Linked DNA regions of Homo sapiens: region 1 is linked to region 2. The links are contacts of gene promoters, found by promoter capture Hi-C in blood cells and fetal thymus (Javierre and others, 2016). All regions are on one chromosome and are shown on one strand. Each heading gives the region's core, a stretch centred on a gene start or on the middle of the fragment in contact. The rest is flanking DNA. Distances are from core to core; before and after follow the strand shown. Region 1 has its middle 97 kb from the start of MIR1302-7. Region 2 holds the start of LINC00051 (long intergenic non-protein coding RNA 51).

The links. The method cuts DNA at HindIII sites, captures the fragments that hold promoters and counts their contacts. A CHiCAGO score of 5 or more calls a contact.
Region 1: a contact is called between a fragment that was not itself captured here and the fragment with the promoter of LINC00051 in region 2, in 4 of 17 cell types (M0 macrophages, M1 macrophages, M2 macrophages and 1 more). The highest score is 7.9, in M0 macrophages.

Annotation. Positions count from the first base shown.
Region 1 is chr8:141,686,782-141,691,868 of GRCh38, reverse strand. No RefSeq gene overlaps it. Among named protein-coding and RNA genes, the nearest start is that of MIR1302-7, 97 kb to the left of the region's middle. The HindIII fragment of the contact is 268 bases long and covers 3,275-3,542 here.
Region 2 is chr8:142,195,062-142,200,571 of GRCh38, reverse strand. LINC00051 (long intergenic non-protein coding RNA 51) reads right to left here and starts at 2,216. Exons shown (of 3, transcript NR_024378.1): 1 at 2,116-2,216. LOC105375792 (a long non-coding RNA gene) reads left to right here and starts at 3,043. Exons shown (of 4, transcript XR_007061194.1): 1 at 3,043-5,510. RefSeq lists an enhancer at 2,170-2,464. The HindIII fragment of the contact is 4,093 bases long and covers 1-2,925 here.

The DNA.
Region 1 (5,087 bases), core at 2,159-4,658, 510 kb after region 2:
CCCAGGAGGCGGAGGTTGCAATGAGCCGAGATTTCACCACTGCACTCCAGCCTAGGCAACAAGAGCGAAACTCCGTTTCAACAACAACAAAAAAAGTGGGGGTGCCTTTTCATCTTCATCTGAGAGCACTGCCTAATGTTCTCACTCTCAAAACTCGCATGCAAGCCAGCTCACTCCCTACAAAGCAGGTCTGCTCACCGAAGGGGGTTTGATCAGAGGTGACATCATCCCTCAAAGAAGGCAGGGTCGCAGCAGAGAGAAGTGAAGGTGAAGACAAGATTCGGGGAAAAGGGGGACTCATGGCCCAGAGTGGGGGACAGAATCCCCTCATGACTTATCCTGTGGCGTCCCCAAGAGGTAAGGGTCAGTGGTGGTTGGAAGTGGCAGCATGGCCACCCACGGCCAACTGGGTATGGCCTGGCTGGGTGTGGTCCTGGTGTGGATGGGGTGTCAGGGCCCTATCCTACCTGAGACACTCCGCTGAGCCAGGTCCCCAGGCCGCTGCCAAGAGCTCAGCTTCCCACGGGCCATGGGCCATGTAGGTGAGGAGTGGCCTGAGGCGTGGGTGTTCCCATGAACTGGGAAGTGCACCATGATCTCTAAGTGACTCTCAGACTCCTCAGGAAACCAGTGCACACGGGAGCAGCTCCAGGACCCTCAGGGTGGCCCCAAGATACCTATAGATTGACCTTGGTGGTCCTTGGATGTGCCAGACAGCCCAGAAAGGCTCCTAGGAGGACCCCCACAAATCAGAGGCTGACCCCACGCATCGACACCTGAGCATCCCCTCAGAGAACAGGAAGCATGGGGGACTCTAACTTCTCACTGAAACCAGGACACAAGTAATCACTACGCTGGAACCAGAGGCACACGGGGGACTTCCAGCAACCCTCTGGAGGGAGAAAGCTAGAGTCTGTAGCCCAGTATCCTGCTGTATCACTAATGTAAAACCTAACTCTACTGCCAGGTGAGCACCAGGGGAAATGCCTTTTACAGGAATATTTGTCACGTAGATGGTTCAACACACACGCACCTGCGAATGCGCCCGCCGTGCTCAGCTCCTTGCTTTCCCTGGCGGCCAACACTTCCCTGCCTGAGTGGATTTATTAGAAGTGCTCACACCTACCCACCAGCCCCACCCACTGAGGAGGGGTCCCTGGGCCAGGAGCGCACAAAGGAGGTGATGCCATCAGCAAGCCTGACTGTTCCTTCCTTGTCATTTATTTTTCACAACTTAAAAATCATGGAGTAATCCAGGGTCATGCAGTAATAATCAACCACAAACTTCTCTCCTGCAGTTGGCCAGGCTTTTGCAAAATATACTCCTGTCTTACAAAAGGTAATGCCAACTGCGCGAGGGAAAACTTGGAAAATAACAAACAGTAAATAAAATAAAGCAAGCTCTGCCTATAACCCCACCATGCAAACAAAACCATTGCTAATATCTGGGGGCATGTCCTTTCATTATTTCTAAAGCGCTATTTTCCTAGCTTTTCCTGAGATGATGGTGATTTCTTGCTGACAGAGTTGGAATCATATTACACTATATTACCTGTTAGGATCACACTTTTTGTTCCCTGCAAGCATTCTCGGTATGTGCTCTTAGCAAACATTATTTTTTAATGGCTGTAATATTCATTCAAGTGGATAACCCACAGTTTACTTAAACATCCCCCATGTTCAAACACTTAGGTTGTTTCTAATTATTTTGCTAAAAATACCTATTTTTTCGTATTTAAGATTACTTCCTCAGGATAGCATCCTAGAAATTAAACTGCCAGTCTAAGGGGGCATTTTTAAGCGTGTGATGCAGGCTGCCAACTGTCTGCTCCTGGGGCAGTCCCTGCCTGCACCCGACACAGCACATGTCAGACATTACCATGTTTTAATGTCTGTTCCCCTTATTAACAAGAATCCGTACTTGGTTTTAATGTGCATTTTCTTTATTACTAGTAAGGGAAGATAACTTTTCCATGTTTATTTCCTAACTGTATTTATGATTCCTGGGAATTGGGCAGCCACATACTTTGACTAATAACCTATCTGAGGTTCTACGTGTTACTTATCAATTTTTAGAAAGTCCTTTTACACGCTGAAGATGTTAACCCCTCGAATGCGGTGTTGGCTGGAAATATATTTTCCATGGGGTAGTGGCTTTTCATTTGTGGCCTTTTCTGTGTTTGTTAAGAGGCAGGAGTTTCCGATTTTTCTATAAGTCAAGCTGTCCGTCTTTCTCTTTGTGATTCCGTCTAACATTTCTCATTTGACAATATCCTCCCCTTTTACGTGTCCATTTTCAGTTCTATTTGGTTCTAGATTTGCGGATCCTGAGCATGTGTTTTCACACCGTCATCTCAAATCCAGGGTTTATCCAGAGGACAGATGATAGACCAATTGTACGCTTTCAGCTTACCGTGGAGGAGGTCACTTGTGATGCGGGCAAAAAGGGGGAAGTGGGGTGGGGAAGTGGCGAGATAAGGTCTCTGGAAAGTGGAATGTCTCCCCCAGCCTGTGACTGATTTTCCCTGCGTGACCTTTCTCCTCCAGTCATCACTTTTGTCTTTGCTTTAAGTCAGAGGTTCTCAATCAAGGACAATTTTGTCCTCCAGGGACATTTGCCAATGTCTGATTGTCACAGCTGGGAGGTGCTGCTGGCATCTAGTGGGCAGAGGTCAGGGAAGCTGTTCAGCATCCCGCAATGCACAGGATACAGGATGGCCCCTGTCCCCAGAGCAAAGAATCACCCAGCTCAAAATAGCAATAGTGTCAAGGGGAAGAAATCCTGCTTTACACTGAATGCTAGCTTCCCTAGATGGATTAGCTAAAATTACACTAAAAAATGATCAAACATGGGTGGGTCTGAGAGGGCTAGTTGTCCTACAATGCCCATTCTCTCCTCCTTTCTTGCGCAGAAAGTTTAGCTGGGCACACATAGAAGAAAGTGGTTACATATCACAATTCTCCTTTCACCCAGGCACAGCCACATGACTGAAGTTCTGGCCAGTGACATGTAAACAGAAGCAAGTGTCCAGGGGCAGTTTTAAAAGTCAGCTGCCACTCACAGCTTGCCTCTCCCTTGCTGCCCCCTAGAATGCAGATGTGATCGTTGGAGCCGAAGCACCCTTTTGCACCTTGAAGTGGCTTTGAGAATGGAGGCCATGCTTGGGGGACCAACAGGGCAAAAGGAGCCTGGTCTCTGAGCTCTCTGTGGAGTAGACCATTTCAGTCCTGGCTGGCCTGCCTCCAGGCTCTATGGAAAAGGGAGAGCGAAGCTTCTTTCTTTTTTAGGCCATTGCTATTTTCAGTCTCTGTGACTTACCACCAAATCTAACTGTCGCAAATGGTGAAATGGGGAATGTTTGTGAAGACTTCTGATAAAATTCCAGCGTGAATTTGAGAGGATTAAATAGAATAAAATGTGCAAATTGCTTAGCTGATCACTTGGTACACAGCAGAACACTTGGTACCCTTGATACATTTAATAGTAAACTGGCTGAGTTATTGTGAGCCCCACCATGTGATGGGCATTACACCAACAAGCTTATACCCCATGTTTTAATCCCCCCAGCAACCTATGAAGGTGGTGCATTGTGGTCCCTGATAGGGATGGGGTAACAGAAATACAGAGACTACTCTCAACTTGCCACCATCGCACTGTCAGGGCAAAGCCAGGCCTAGTCCCTGCACTGTGCCACCTCCACCTCAGCAGACATTGGGGACTGCATGGTTTGGAGGCATTTGGGATCCAGCAACTATGAACAAAACTCTTTGCCTGAAGATCTTGCTTCATCCCAAAACTGTGAGCTTTTTGTTGCAGCCCAAAAGGGCTGCTTCAGCTCCAACCATCACATCTGCATTCCAGAATGCATCTCCAACCCTGTGAGATACCCACTGTGGCATTTGTCTTGCCACAAGAAACCTGAGTCACAAGGAGGCTAAGTGACTTATCCACTATCACACCACGAGTGGCAGAGCTGAAGCTCAAATCCAGGTGGATTTGATATCAGAGTCCATGTACTTAGTGACGTGGCCAAACTGCCTTTCAATAAATACAGCTGAATGAAGGCAGAGAGCACACAAACGAATGCCAGCTGTGGCTATGATGCCACTGAGTATCAGGATTAAGTACCCACCATGCACTGACTCACTCAAACTCACAGCAATTCTTGATCCAAAGATAAGGACATGGAGGATCAAAGAGGTCCGGAGACCAGCCTGAGGTCACTCAGCCAGGAAGTGTGGGGCCTGGATGAAGAGCAGATCTGGGGTAGGGGATGCTGTTCCCCTGCCCCTCCTGCCTCCTCATGGGCCATGTGGCCACAGTTCCCAAACTGGCGTGGATGATTCCTTGGCCAGGAATCCTCTTCTAGTTGGCAAGATGCTCTGGTGTGAGGCAGGCAGGGACCCAGGCACAGCCCTGGTGTCTTATGTTACCCGCCTCCATCCCTGACATCAACAGGGACTCACGCTTTGCAAAAGGGGCATACAGCTGGTACCCCTTGGAGCTGAAACAGGCTCTGTGTGTGGTGGGCCTGCAGTCGCTGCTGCAGAAAGTGAGAAATTGAACACATTTCTTGCTAATGCAGACAGAGCCGCCCATTTAATGTTGGAGAAGCCCTGAGAATTGGGGAGGGCAGGGAAGACCTCCTGAAGGAGAGGAGGTTTGACTCTACTACCTGCAGAGGGGACTGGGGCTGCCCACAGGAGGCCAGAGGCTCTGAGCCCTGATTCTGGGATTCCAGCTTCCTGAGAGGCAAGCTGACTTCCCCGGCCCTGAGGAGTGGGGGTGAGGGGTTGGGATAGGTGAGCCCCATCCCTCCGGAACCGCTGCCAGCTCACTCAGGTCGTTAGCACCTAAAGAGGGTGTAAAAGTGACTTATGAGCAGAAATCAGGTGTTCAGGCATAAACACACCAAGGCCAGTGATTGATTTGACTGGGTAAATAGCTTTTATAATTGGTATTTTTTATTAAATTTTAAGTGATGCATATTTATGTGAGAGCATCGTGGGCACATAGGGACCGGCCTCGCCCGGCCTTCCTGCTGGCAGAGACTCAGGATCATAAAACAGATTCCTGTTGGCCGGAT
Region 2 (5,510 bases), core at 967-3,466:
CATCCCTTTTGCCACGTAGGGGGCATATCCGCAGGGTAAGGTCCATGCATGGTGTGTTTCCATGGTAACATGGTAAGAGGGAAACACGCAAGGACAGGTCCTCACCACGCCTGTGAAAGCCCCAAGGCTGCCCTGATAGTTGCAAGGGGTGCGGCTGCCAACCCTACCTCTTGTGTTTGCATCACTACCATCCTCCCCCAGTAAGAGCAGCTGATGCCCCTGCCCAGCCCACACAGGAACTCCTTGTAAACACACTTTGCTTTGCCGCAGCTTGTATGCATCTTAAAGGAAGTTTCTACTGAGCCGTGTCCCCTCCTCAATGTCGTTCAGTCATGCAACAAACACCTGTGCATACAGAAGGAAACAGAGGTGGGTCAGACACCAGGGACGCTCAGCGGGAGGAGGCCGGTGAGCAAACGCATCTCACAATTCGGCAAACGAAGGCTGCAAGGTGCCTTCCAGGAAGTCTGGACCGTGGACTGAAGGGAGGATGGTGGCAGGGTGGTCTGGAAGTGGCCAGGAGTAGCGGCGACCTCGGCCTGCCTCCAGGTTCTGCCTCTATCTCGTGCCATGGACTGCAGGCAGCCCCACTCAGCAGGACAGGCTGTGCTGATGCTGGCTGTGCAGTCCGGTGGGCTCCGGGATGGGCAGGAGGGAGATGGGCATGGCGAGGAATGTGCAGAAACGGATGAGGGCGGGAGAGTCATGGGTGACCTGGAGTCGGGAGAATAGGCCTGATGAGATGTTTCGAGTGGTGTCAGGCTGGAGCCCTGTGGGAGGCGGGTGGGAATGGGGATACCCTTTTACCTCTGATGAAGGGGCTAGGGCCCTTGGCCAGTCCCAGGGTGAAGGCCTGCCATCGCACAGGGTTACTCGAGGTCTGGATCCTGCATCACAACAGCAGCCCACATCCCACAATAAACAAAGGTGTTGTTATTAGGAGAGCTTGGCATCCCTCGCGGGCTCCGTTTCCTGGGGTTTCACTCTGTGAGTGCAGGAGCTCTTCAAATGTTTTGCCAATTAGACTGAAAGACCCATGAGAGGGCAGATGCCAGGAATCCCCAGGCAGGGACCTGCCCAGAGCCACAGGCCCAGCAGGATGAGAAATGCTGTGGGGGTGAGTTGGGCTGTGGGCTCAGGCCACTGCCAGAAATAAGAGCAGTGGACAGAGGGCAGGTGACCCCATGGAAGTGTGGGCAGCCCAGGGGGTTTGTGGCAACCCAGGGGGGTCAGGCAGCCCAGGGGGGTTGTGGCAGCACCACAGTGAAGCCCAGGCTCCTTTCCTCCTGTTTCTCTGCTGTCCTCGACACACAGCTTCCATCTGTGGCCAAGGTGGCTGCTCTTGCTCCGGCCATCACATCTATCCTCTGGCCAGCAGGGAGGGGAGAATGGACCAGGGTGGCCGGCTCCTTCCTGTTAGCAACTTAGCCCAGAGGCTTCCCTCGTCCCATCCCTCCATCCTACTGGCCATATGTTGGTCCCAGGACTACCCCTGCTGAAGGGTGGCTGGAAAACAGAGTCTTTAGCCAGACAGCCAGAAGCCCTCCAAAACTGGGGGAAAAAATCGCAGGCTCTGCTACACTTAGCTGTTGTTAGTGAGGGAGGCGTCCAGGACGGGCCGAGAGGGCAGGCTGTTAGTGAGGGGGCAGGTGGGAGGTGAGTCTAGAATGTTCTCTGACAGAGTGTCTGGCAGAGTGCCCCCCCTTCCTTGTCAGGCCTTTCCAAGGACCCTTCAGGGAGTGTCCTGGGGTGTCTGGGAGTTTCCAGGTGTACGGGAGGGACACCCTCCGATTCTCACAGTCTATGGAGGGAGCAGCCTCACCCACGTCTCAGCGAAAACCCTCCCTCTGCTCACCCCAGCCACACGGCTGGAACTCCAGCCCACTTCTGCTGCCTGTGAAGTGAGTGAGGGCGTGAGGGCTGAGGGCAGTGGGCAGCTGGAGGCTGGGCTGGGCAGGGGTGGAGGGGTCTGAGGGCCCTCGGGAGAAGGCAGCTTCCGGCCTCGTGGCGCTGGGACCAGGTGGCCTGAGCTAAGTGGGCTGTAGCTGCCGCCCCTCTCTCTGCACTCACCTGGGAGCTGGGGAACCTGGGGGCTGGTCCCTGGCGCTGACTTACCCAACGCACTCGCTCTTGGGAGAAGAGAACCTGGGCCTCAGAGTGGGGCAGCAGCCGGACAGGAGAGAGGCAGGGGCTTGCTGCTGGGGCCATGGGGACTCTCCCCCTTCCTGCCCCAGCCCAGCAGCTGCTAGGGGCAGAGCTGGTGCTCAGAGCCCGCCTTCCCACAGAGCCCTCCAATGAGAGGTCTTGCCCCTCCTCCCTGGGGGCGGGGTCTGGAGAGGGGCGGAGCCTTTCTCCCAACAAGCGAGTCAGAAAGAGGTGCCCAGTTTAGGAGCTGAAGCAGCTGAGTCCCAGGGCCTGACAGTCAACAGGACCCGGTAGCGATGAGGCTGCATTGTTCTGGGTGCACAGTCAGCCTGACAGCCCTGCGCGTGCGAAAGTCGACTCCTTTGGGTGATGGAGGCTGTGGGCTGCCTTCTCCCTGCACTGGGAAGGGGCGAGGCTCCCGGCTACACCAGCTCTGTTGTGGGTTGGGGACACTGCCCCTTCCCGAGCCCAGTGCCTGTGGGACCTACAGTCCTCCCTGAGAATCCTGCAGCCCTTGAGTGACCCCAGCCTGGAGATCAAGGACCTTACCTTGGCACCCAGGCCTGGTATGAGCTCTGACTTCAAAGTCTGAGCGCTCTACCCCCCCGGGGCCACGCACTCTGTCACCCTAAGCGTTCTCCCCCAGCCCCTGCTGTCCTGCAGATGTCCTTGCAAACTCAATTTTCCTTCTGTATGCAATTCTCTTGCACCTCTATTCCATCGGCAAACTCCTGTTAGTGCGTCAAGACAGAATCCTGATGTCTCCTCCTCCAGGAAGCTTTCCCTGGTTGCACTCACTCCCTGCCACCTCCTCTCCTACCCTCCACATGCAGGGGTGGTTGTTGCCTCCCTATAAGCAGCTGCCCTGGCCTTTCTAGGGGTGGCTCCCCACTGGGTTCAGTGCGGCTTGTCCTGTGCAGCCGGGCTGGTCCTCAGGAAATTGATGCTTCCCATCACTCGCCTGTCTTCTTGGAACAACTTCAGGGTTTATTGAATCTGGAAAGAAAGAAGAGCAAAAAAAGGGAACCATGTACATCGCACAAATCAGTTGTTCTGACAGTTTTATTAAATAATGGGGCGGTTCAATCATGTTGTGAAACAAGGCTCTGGGGAGGAGGCAAGAGGCAGGATCTGGGGCTGGAATTTCTGGAAGAAGTCTAGCATCTTCCGGAATTGATCGAGCCTCCTTCATACTGTGGAAGATGTGGGTTCAGACCCAGGCTTTCCACCAGCAGCGGGGTGGCTGGGAGCCTCGCCCTCCCTGCTCCCACCTGCTTGCTTCCCAGAGGGTCAGGTGCTGGTGCTCCAGGCCTGCTTGCTGTGGGAGGGAGTCGCTGAGGAGAGCCAGGGAGCCATGAGAATTCCCTCTTCAGGGCCTTTTCTAGGAGGGCAAGAGGAGGCCGAGGCCCTGAGAGAGCCAATATGGGGTCTGGGCCCTCGGCTGGGAGGGTGGAGGCGGTGGAGGAGACACGTCTATTTGACTCCACCTGCCGGGAGCTGGGTGGCTTGTGCTAGGAGACCCTGGCAAGCCCCCCAGCCCCTGCACCGCCCTCCCCACCCGGCCCAAGCTCCTGGCCTTCAGCATCCAGAGCTCCCAATGAACTTCCCAGGTCTCCCCAGGATTCCCAAGGAACCTTCATGCAAGATGCAGTGGACTCAGATAGAGAGGGCCCAGCCAGGCACGCCCTGAGGCCTCTTCCTGGGGCTTCCACAGGTCTCCTGCAGCTGCTGGACACTGAGGGACGCTGGCCACTGTGGGCAGTACAGCATGGTGCTTGGCAGGCGGGGCCTGGAGCCTGCCGGGTCTCTCCTCCTCCAGCCTCGGCTGCCGTCCACAGAATGGGAAATACCTGTGACTTCCTGGGACAGGATGGGATGTGGTGGCTGCGTGGATGTGCACCATGAGCTTCCGGGCCACCCTGCTCGGCGCTGACCAGTCCTTACCAGGTGGGTGTCACTTGCTTTACAGCGGGGCTCAGAGGCCACACCGAGGGGCAGCAGTGCCGTTGGCTCTGGGAAGAGGTCCCACCCAGGCAGGGGTCTGGCCCCTCTCCTCCCAGGCCCTTGCCCTGCCTGCTACGGGCTGACTTTCAACATCTTTCTCTGGGCTCAGCTGCTCGAGGCTGCTACTCAGGGGCTGGGCCTGTTCCATGAGCCCGGCAGCCCTGTCTCCCTCTGTCTCTCAGGCTCTGCCACCCTGGCCTTTCCACCTGCTCCTGGCTGCCAGCTCTCCGACACCTTCATCCTTGGGTTTGGCTTTGGACCCTGACTGGGTCAGCAGCCTGGGTTAGGAGGCCTTCCATTGCCCTCCAGGGACTCCTGGGGCACCCGCCATGTGCTGGGGCTCTGAGGGCGCTGGGGAGCCGAGGGCATGCAGTGGGGGGTTGGGCCCAGGTATGGGAGCTGAGGGCAGCACGGCCATGGGAGGGGACCTGGGGGATCTCTGGATATCAGGGCAGTGTCTTTGCACTGAGGGATGGCACTCCTGGAGGTTCACTGCTGGTTCCAGAGCACAGAGGTGTGACTCCTGGAGGGTGGCCAGCCCTGCGGGGGGTCAGAAGATGATGGGGACAGTGCGGGGCGAGGCAGAGGCTCTCAGGTCCCCTACCGGACTTCAGGACGAATCACGTGAACCCGCCAGCATTTCACAGTTTTGACCTACAGAGCCAGCAATGTCACATCGCCGACCCCAAACACCTCAAGGGTGTCACCACCAGGCTGGGCTTGGGCTGCATCCCGTGGTGCCCAGGAGTGTGAGTTTCCACCCTGCAGATGCTGTGCCAGCTGGGCAGGGTGAGGACGAACTAGAGAAGCAGGGGCAGAGCAGGGCCCGGCCCCAAGCCCTGGACGCCCTCGCAGGTGGGACAGGGTCAGCGTAGCTCTGCAGGGCAGGTGGCCCTGGATGGAGCTCCAGCCCTGCCCTCGTTAGCGGGGTGCCCTCATGGGAGTGGCCTTGCCTCTGGGTGCCTTGTCTTTTGAGGGGGCATAAGAGTCTCATCTGCCTCCTGAGCTCTGCTGAGGAGGAGGAGCCGAGCTGTTTCGTGCGGGCGCTGGCAGGGCCTGGCGTGTGTGCAGCAGGCATCTTTGCTCCAGGCAGGGCGCGGGGCAACGGGAATGCGGTGACCCCAGGCTTCTGAGTTGGGATCAGACGAAAACCTTAGGGGGCTGGTGCCGGGATGGACCTCAAAGCAGGGGGTGGGGTGGGGGTCAGGGAGCCCTGGAGGGTGGGAGGCCAAGGGAACACCTGACCAGGCACCAAGGCCCCTGCCCTTGGGGACAGCTGGGGAGAGGGTGGAGCGACCCCGGCGTCGAGTGTGGATAAAGCTGTCATCCATCTACCCCAGTCCTGCTTCTGAGGGGCCCCC